3 separate regions of the Homo sapiens genome follow, and all the other regions are linked to region 1. Evidence: promoter capture Hi-C in human tissues and cell types (Jung and others, 2019). All regions are on one chromosome and are shown on one strand. Each heading gives the region's core, a stretch centred on a gene start or on the middle of the fragment in contact. The rest is flanking DNA. Distances are from core to core; before and after follow the strand shown. Region 1 holds the start of TEX10 (testis expressed 10). Region 2 has its middle 130 kb from the start of CAVIN4. Region 3 overlaps STX17 (syntaxin 17).

Evidence for each region. The method cuts DNA at HindIII sites, captures the fragments that hold promoters and counts their contacts. A contact is called where the count stands out against the background at its distance.
Region 2: a fragment that was not itself captured here is called in contact with the fragment with the promoter of TEX10 in region 1 in 1 of the 25 tissues and cell types used here (dorsolateral prefrontal cortex).
Region 3: a contact is called between a fragment that was not itself captured here and the fragment with the promoter of TEX10 in region 1, in 1 of the 25 tissues and cell types used here (lymphoblastoid cells).

Annotation. Positions count from the first base shown.
Region 1 is chr9:100,351,647-100,354,371 of GRCh38, forward strand. TEX10 (testis expressed 10) reads right to left here and starts at 1,296. Exons shown (of 15, transcript NM_017746.4): 1 at 1,126-1,296. It overlaps LOC105376177 (a long non-coding RNA gene), which reads left to right and starts at 1,404. Exons shown (of 4, transcript NR_188642.1): 1 at 1,404-1,935; 2 at 2,351-2,449. RefSeq lists enhancers at 535-584, 989-1,623 and a silencer at 925-1,474. The HindIII fragment of the contact is 15,352 bases long and covers 1-2,725 here.
Region 2 is chr9:100,710,678-100,713,437 of GRCh38, forward strand. No RefSeq gene overlaps it. Among named protein-coding and RNA genes, the nearest start is that of CAVIN4, 130 kb to the left of the region's middle. The HindIII fragment of the contact is 5,997 bases long and covers 1-2,760 here.
Region 3 is chr9:99,925,546-99,928,245 of GRCh38, forward strand. All of the region lies in intron 2 of STX17 (syntaxin 17), which reads left to right. Among named protein-coding and RNA genes, the nearest start is that of STX17, 20 kb to the left of the region's middle. The HindIII fragment of the contact is 5,591 bases long and covers 1-2,700 here.

The DNA.
Region 1 (2,725 bases), core at 46-2,545:
ACAGTCTACTGTCAACTTCATGCCATATTATCTATCGCTTTGTATTAGTCACATTAATGCTTTCTCTGTTAGGAAAATTAAGAAGGCTGATTGACCTTCCTTGACTTTTCAAACCTAGTAATATTATTACGGGATACAAAGCATTTTCATGCGAAGAACTCTCAAAGTTCTACTAGTAATTGACTTTAACTTATAACAAAGATTTTCATAACACAGCAAATCAAAAAGTCCCACTAAGCCACTTTTACAGTAGCCGGTTTTTAGCAAAAGGTAGGAACGCCAGTCTCAGAGGAGGAGCTCACATCACTAGTCCTTAGGTTTGCGATCCCCAATAGTTTCAAAGCTGAATGTCACACATTCCTACTGTAGGTCTTTTCTAATTCCAACAAAAGGCAGATCCTAGCGTTTTTAGGATTTCAATCGAACTAAATTCCAACTATAAATAGTTTGCCTGCCACCTTCTTACCCTTCCTCATTTCCACCTTCTTTTCCAAAAAAAATCAGAGAGAACGATCGTACTGCACTCGGCCTTTGATAATTTCCTCCCCAAACCCTTAAACTCATGAGTTCCTCCAAACTCCACTGAGGGGCCAACCAGAGGCGACAGACTTCCCAAAAAGCAAATGGCCCAGGCAGGGGCGACCCCAGAAAACTGGTAGTCCCCTTCCGCTCGCTTAACTCTCCCGCCTGGGCGACCAGAGGACGGAACAGGGGACGCCAGCTCATCCCCACTCCGTATTCGGTCCTGCATCCATCCCAGAGGCGAACACACCATGGGTTTTAGGAAACCATCGTTCCTCCTACTCCAAGGGACGCCGGCCAGGACCAGAGTCGGGGAAGTGGGGCCCGATTCACACACTCCGGGCTAAAACTCTCTCGGACCCGAAACCAGGCGAACCCGCCCAGTCACCTGAAGCTCCGCAAACGCCCTAGGGGGTCCCGCCCCCGCAGTGCCGGCCGCACACCCAGGCCCAGCTCGGAGGGACGCCGCGGCCCAGACCCGGGGGACGCAAATCGTGCACGGCCGACCCTGCCCGCTTGGGCCGCGGATCGGGGGGCGACGGCCCCACCACGCTCAGTCCCGCGCCCCGGGAGGACCCGGCCCGACGGGCGACGGCCGCTTACCTGAGGACCCGGCCGCGGCCGGGGCGAGAAGCCCGAGAAGACAAGCGAGGGAGCAGAAGCCCACGGGGCAACAGCGTGCGCCGCCGACCTCAGGCTCTAGCTCCCGGAGCGTGTTTTCAAATAGCCTCGTCCTCACGCGGCCGCGTCTCCTTCCGCCGCCCGGAAATCAGGGCCCCTCCCCCTCCCTGCTGTGCTCACGTGATCGCAGCCCGCAGCCGCGCGCAACCGGGGAGGCGGGAGCGGGAGCGGTAGGCCCCGCCCACAGAGGAGGGTACCCCGCCGGAAGCCCCCTGCTCTGTGGGAACCGGAGGGAGGACAGCGCGAGGTCCCCGGACAAAGCGTGGCGCATAAGTCCGGCCCGTAACTTGGTGGGCAGGCAACTTAGGGGATGTGGGCCTGGTTATAGCTGAGCATGCTTTTCTATTCCTCCCAGACCACAGTTCTTCAGACCTGGAGCCACTTTCAGAGAAGAGTATAAGTTGCACTGAATTGAAAAAGGGAAAAGTTTAGGACTGCAGAAGATGGAATTCCTGGGGACGTTAAACTGGGCTAAGATGGAGCAGATAAGATTTCCTTAATTAGAGCAAGACACACCTAGTATCTAGAGCCTGGAAGTCTTGGTCAAGGATTCTCCCTAACATCTCAGTTTCTCAGCACTAACATTCCTGCTACTAAAATGAAGTGAGAAATTAATTTCTGAAGTTAAGTAAAGAAATAAACTAAAATTCCTAGAAAAGAGGTAAGAAGAATGAGCCTTTGAAAAATGTCTTCACAAAGACTGGCATGATGGCATGGAAGAAAGAGCCCCAGGTAAGGACTTCAGACCTTGATTCAAATTTGTGTCTACACCTCACCAGATAATTAAGACTTAGTAAAGCTAGCGAAGATATTGACCCTCATTATATTGGGTGGGAATTCAAAGGAATGATGTCTAAATCCAGGGAGACCCAAGCACTGGAACTAAAACCATGCCTGTTCCATAATCGGAGATAAAGAGGCAGCGCTAGAAACCCTGACCTCCCTTTGCTGGCAATATGGCCACATCACCACAATCTGCCTGGAATCGACCATAACCATAAATATTTGGGAGTCATTGGCATTATGTGGCATTATATTCTGTTTAAAGCTATGAGACTAGATCAGAAGAGGAAAGATTTATTGCCAACCAGACAAGTCCCTGGAACTCCAAACTTGTATCCAACAGTTTTTTCAATGTTTCCTTCAGATATCCAGTATACATCTCAAGGTCAACTTGTCCAAAACAGAGCTACTGATGATTTTCCCCTTGAAATCTACTCTTCCTACAGCTTATTCATCTCAAATAGTAAGTCTGTCCTTGCAGTTACTCAAGCAGAAACCTTTGGGTTTTTGGTTTGGCCTCTTTGTTCCACACCTCACATCTAATCCATCTGGAGATTGACTCTACCTTTAAAGACATCCTAACTTTCACCAGTTAACACACCTCCCCTGCTACCATTCTGGTCCAAGCCGCTTCTTGATCACTGCAAAAAGCCTGCAAACACATCTTCCTGCTTCCCTTATTGTCCTTCTTCCCCCTACAGTCTGGTATCAGCAGAGCAGCTGTGTGATTATTTTAAGA
Region 2 (2,760 bases), core at 58-2,557, 360 kb after region 1:
CTTTCCACTCTGATTTCATGATTTTCATAAATATAACTAAACTGTGATTTGTCATAAGCCAAAGTCACAAGTTGGACTTGTAACTGCAATGTATTAAATTTATATTTAGGCATTACATCTGTGTATCACTGTGTCCTTATGTATCTGATACTGTGAGATCAACAAAGCCTGGAGAAAGTGCTGGAGACACCTTCCTTATAGTCTAGTTCTTAGAAAACTCTCAATATTCAAAAGGCATTACATTTATTCTTTAAAACATTTTAAATAAGAAATGACTCCATTAAACAATCCACAAAGAAAGCCATCTCTCTTAAAGCTTTCCATGTTCATAAAACTCCCCAAATGTGTAGTTTTTATTTGGTAATTTAATTTCTGCTGCAGATGTCTATCCAATTTATTTGCGATTTATCACCGATTTTAATTTATAGTGAAAGTACTGGGCCAGATTTGTAAAGAGATAATATTTTTCTCCTCATTTCATTCTAGATTCAATGAATAATTGGTCTTTCCCATTATTATTAATTTATCTTTGCACACTAATGCTTTTGAACAATGATGAGTTTCACAAAATTCTTCTCCAGCTGTCACCTGGAAACTTTTTGTGCCAATGTTATTTTAGATTTATGCTAATAAAAATTTATTCCAGTTTTAAGACTTTAAATCCTCCTACATTTACTTGCCAAATACACCGTGTGAGTTCTTGAACAAGTTGCCTCCTTGCATCAGTCCATTTTCATGCTGCTGATAAAGACATACCTGAGACTGGGGAATTTACAAAAGAAATAGTTTCATTGGACTTACAGTTTCACATGGCTGGGGAGGCCTCACAATCGTGGTGGAAGGCAAGGAGGAGCAAGTCACATCTTACATAGATGGCAGCGGCAAAATGAGAGCTTGTGCAGAAAAACTCCCGTTTTTAAAACCATCAGATCTCATGTGACCCATTCACTATCACAAGGACAGCACAGGAGAGACCTGCCCTCATGATTCAATCATCTCTCACTGGGTTCCTTCCCACAATATGTGGGAATTATGGAAGCTCCAAGGTGAGATTTGTGTGGGGACACAGGGCTAAACCATATTGTTCTGCCCGGCCCCTGTAAAATCTCATATCTGCACATTTCAAAACCAATTATGCCTTCCCAACAGTCCCCCAAACTCTCAACTCATTTCAGCATTAACTCAAAAGTCCACAGCCAAAGTCTCATCTGAGACAAGGCAAGTCCCTTCCTCCTATGACCCTGTAAAATCAAAAGCAAGTTAGTTCCTTCCTAGATACAATGGGGATACAGGCATTGGGTAAATACAGCCATTCCAAATGGGAGAAATTGGCTGAAACAAAGGGGCTAAAGGCCCCAGGCAAGTCTGAAATCCAGTAGAGCAGTCAAATCTTAAAGCTCAAAGTGATCACCTTTGATTCCATGTCTCACATCCAGGTCCGCTGATGCAAGAGGTGGATTCCCATGGTCTTGGGGAGCTCTGCCCCTGTGCTTTGCAGGGTACAGCCTCCCTCCTGGCTGCTTTCATGGACTGATGTTGAGTGTCTGAATCTTTTCCAGGTGCACAGTGCAAACTTTTGGTGGATCTACCATTCTGGGAGCACAGTGCAAACTGTTGGTGGATCTATCATTCTGGGGTCTGGAGGATGGTGGCCGTCTTCTCACAGCTCCACTAAGTGGTATCCCAGTAGTGACTCTGTGGGGGGGCTCCAACCCCACATTTCCCTTCCATACTGCCCTAGCAGAGGTTCTCCATGAGGGCCCCACCCCTGCAGCAAACTTCTGCCTGGGCATCCAGGCATTTCCATACATCCTCTGAAATCTAGGTGGAGGTTCCTAAACCTCAATGCTTGATTTCTGTGCACCTGCAGGCTCAACACCATGTGGAAGCTGCCAAAGCTTGGGGCTTCCACCCTCTGAAGCCACGGCCTGAGCTCTATGTTGGCCCATTTCAGCCATGGCTGGGGCAGCTGGGACACAGGGCACGAAGTGCCTAGGCTGCACACAGCATGGGGACCTTGGGCCTGGCCCCCGAAACCACTTTTTCCTCCTAGGCCTCTGGGCCTGTGGTGGGAGGGGCTGCTGCAAAGGTCTCTGACAGTTGGAGATAGTTTCCCCATTGTCTTGGTGATTAACGTTTGGCTCCTCATTACTTATGCAAATTTCTGCAGCTCACTTGAATTTTTCCTCAGAAAATGGGATTTTCTTTTCTATTGCATTGTCAGGCTGCAAATTTTCTAAACTTTTATGCTCTGTTTCCCTTTTGAAACTGAATGCCTTTAACAGCGTCCAACTTTCCTCTTGAATGCTTTGTTGCTTAGAAATTTCTTCCACCATATACCCTAAATCATCTCTCTCAAGTTCAAAGCTCCACAAATCTCTAGGGCAGGGGCAAAATGCTGCCAGTCTTTTTGCTAAAAAATAACAAGAGTCACCTTTGCTCCAGTTCCCAATAAGTTCCTCATCTCCATCTGACACCACCTCAGCCTAAATTTCATTGTCCATATCATTATCAGCATTTTGGTAAAAGCCATTCAACAAGTCTCTAGGGAGTTCCAAACTTTCTCACATTTTCCTCTTCTTCTGAGCCCTCCAAACTGTTCCAACCTCTGCCTGTTACTTAGTTTCAAGGTTGCTTCCACATTTTTGGGTATCTTTTCAGCAGTGTCCCACTCTACTGGTACCAATTTATTGTGTTAGTCTGTTTTCATGCTCCTGATAAAGTCATACCTGAGATTGGGCAATTTACAAAAGAAAGAGG
Region 3 (2,700 bases), core at 131-2,630, 430 kb before region 1:
GTGATGGATTCTATCAGCTTTTTAATGTTTAAAAATATCTTTATTTTGCCTTATTTAAAAAACAACTTTCTCTGGGGATAGAATTCTAGGTTGCATTTTCTGTCATTTTCGAATACTTCCAAGATGTTGTCCCACTGTCTTCTGGCTTGGATTGTTTCTCACAAGAAGTCTTCTGTCATTCTTATCTTTGTTTCTTCGTATTTCATGTGTCTTTTTTCTTCCCGTTTTTAAGATGTTTTTCTTTATTTATTTTAAGTAATTTTACTGTAATGTGCATTAGTATAGCTTTCTTCATTTTTCTTGTCCTTTGAGCTTCTTGGATCTATGGTTTTCTCATTTTTCTCAAATGTAGAAAATCTTTGGCGTTAAGTTTTTCAAATTATTTTTCTCTCATGGAGTCCAGTTACATGTATTTTATGTTGTTTTCATTTGGCCCATGACTATTGATCTTGGTTAATTTATTTTCAACTTATTTTTCTCTGTGTGTTTCATTTTGGATAGTTTCTATTGCTGTGTCCTTAGGTTTACTAATCTTTTCTTCTGCATTGTCTTATCTGCTATTAATCCCATCTAGTGCATTTTTTAATTTCAGGTACTCTTTTTTTAAATTCTATTAATTTAATATTTTAAAATATCTTATATGGCTTTTCTTCTAATGTGCTTATATTTTCTTCTACCTTCTTAAATACATGGAACATATCATAATAACTGTTTTTAATATCCTCATTTATTAATTCCATTATCCCTATCATATCTGGGTCTATTTCTGTTGATTGGTTTTTCTCATTGCAGATCATGTTATTCTGCTTTTTTGCATGCATGGCAATTATCTTTTGGATACCAGACATTGTGAAATTTACTTTATTGGGTACTGAATATTTTTTAATTTATTTAAATATTTTTTAGCTTTATTCTGAAACACAGTTTCGTTGGGAACAGTTTGATCCTTTTGAGTCTTTCTTTTTTTTTTTTGACAGAGTCTTGCTCTGTTGCCCAGGCTGGAGTGCAGTGACATAATCTGGGCTCACTGCAAGCTCTGCCTCCTAGGTTCCTGCCATTCTCCTGCCTCAGCCTCCTGAGTAGCTGGGACTACAGGTGCCTGTCACCACACCCGGCTAATTTTTTTGTATTTTTAGTAGAGACGGGGTTTCACCATATTAGCCAGGATGGTCTTGATATCCTGACCTTGTGATCCGCCCGCTTCAGCCTCCCAAAGTGCTGGGATTACAGGCGTGAGCCACTGCGCCCAGCCTTGAGTCTTTCTTTTAACCTTTCTTGCTTAGGACCAGAACAGCCTTTAGTTCAGGGCTAATTTTTTCCTACAGAGAGCAATACTTTGGAGTATTCTACCTGATACTCAGTGTATTCCAAGGTTTTTCCACTCTGACTTGTGGTCACATGTACCATTTCTAGCCTTGGGTGATCTTCAGGAATTATTCTACCTGTTCTTTTTCTGACCACGGGTTGTTCCCTCACATGCATGTGTGGAGGAGTCCTTTGTTGAAGACTCAAAAGGAAAACCCTGCAGATCTCTGGAGTTCTCTCTCAGTGTATTCCTCTCCTCTCAGTGCAACTAGCCCTTCACCATGCAGCCTTCTCCTCTCTGGTATTCTCTGATCCATGAATTCTGATAGCCTTGGCATCTACACATTCTCAACTCTGTTTCCTTAGTGTTAATTTTTCTTAAAATATCGCAACAGGTTAGTAGTGGGCAATTAATTTAAAAGTGGTTTATTTTCAAACATGAATCTCTGGCTTCCTTTCTCAAACTTTTATTACTGTTATAACACTGCCTAAAAGAGCTTTCACACTGGATCTGATGGCATCAATTAAATTTTTCTTATAAATGAAAGTGGTTTGGTAATGGTTTTAAATTTATGTTTGGTAAATACATTTTCAATATGGTCTAATTTTTTAAAATATTTTTATTTATTTATTTATTTTTTGAGAAGGAGTCTCACTCTGTTGCCCAGGCTGGAGTGCAGTGTGGCACGATCTTGGCTCACTGCAACCTCCACCTCCCAGGTTCAAGCGATCTCCTGCCTCTGCCTCACAAGTAGCTGGGATTACAGGCACCTGCCATCATGCCCAGATAATTTTTTTGTACTTTTAGTAGAGACGGGGTTTCACCATGTTGGCCAGGCTGGTCTCAAACATCTGACCTCAGGTGATCCACCTGCCCCAGCCTCCCAAAGTGCTGGGATTATGGGCATGAGCCACCGCGCCTGGCCGGTCTAATTGTTTTAAGCTTAATAGTTATTGTTTAGTTCTTAGATTATGTAAAAATTTTAGGAGTATCAAAAGAAGTTTTTGCTACATCATTCTTTACCAAATTTTAAGAATGTGCAGAACGAGGAATATAAAAATGCCCTAGAAATTTTTTTTAATGCTCTACTCTTATAATGTATGTTTTCTATGCATATATGAGGGAATTTTTATGTTTCTATCCTTTCAAATTATTTCTAAGTTGATGTTTTGGGAATGTGTAAAGTATCAAAAATGTGTTTAATGTAACTATTCACATCTGCTAACATTTTAATTATTTGATTTTTTAATTTCCAATAAAAATAACATATGATATTTGGTGTTGATGTTTATATTCTATATAAATATTCTGCTATAATATCACATATTCCTATGGTTCCTATCAAATGAAAAAATTCCCATGATTCTGTTCCTAATTCTTTTTGGATGATACTC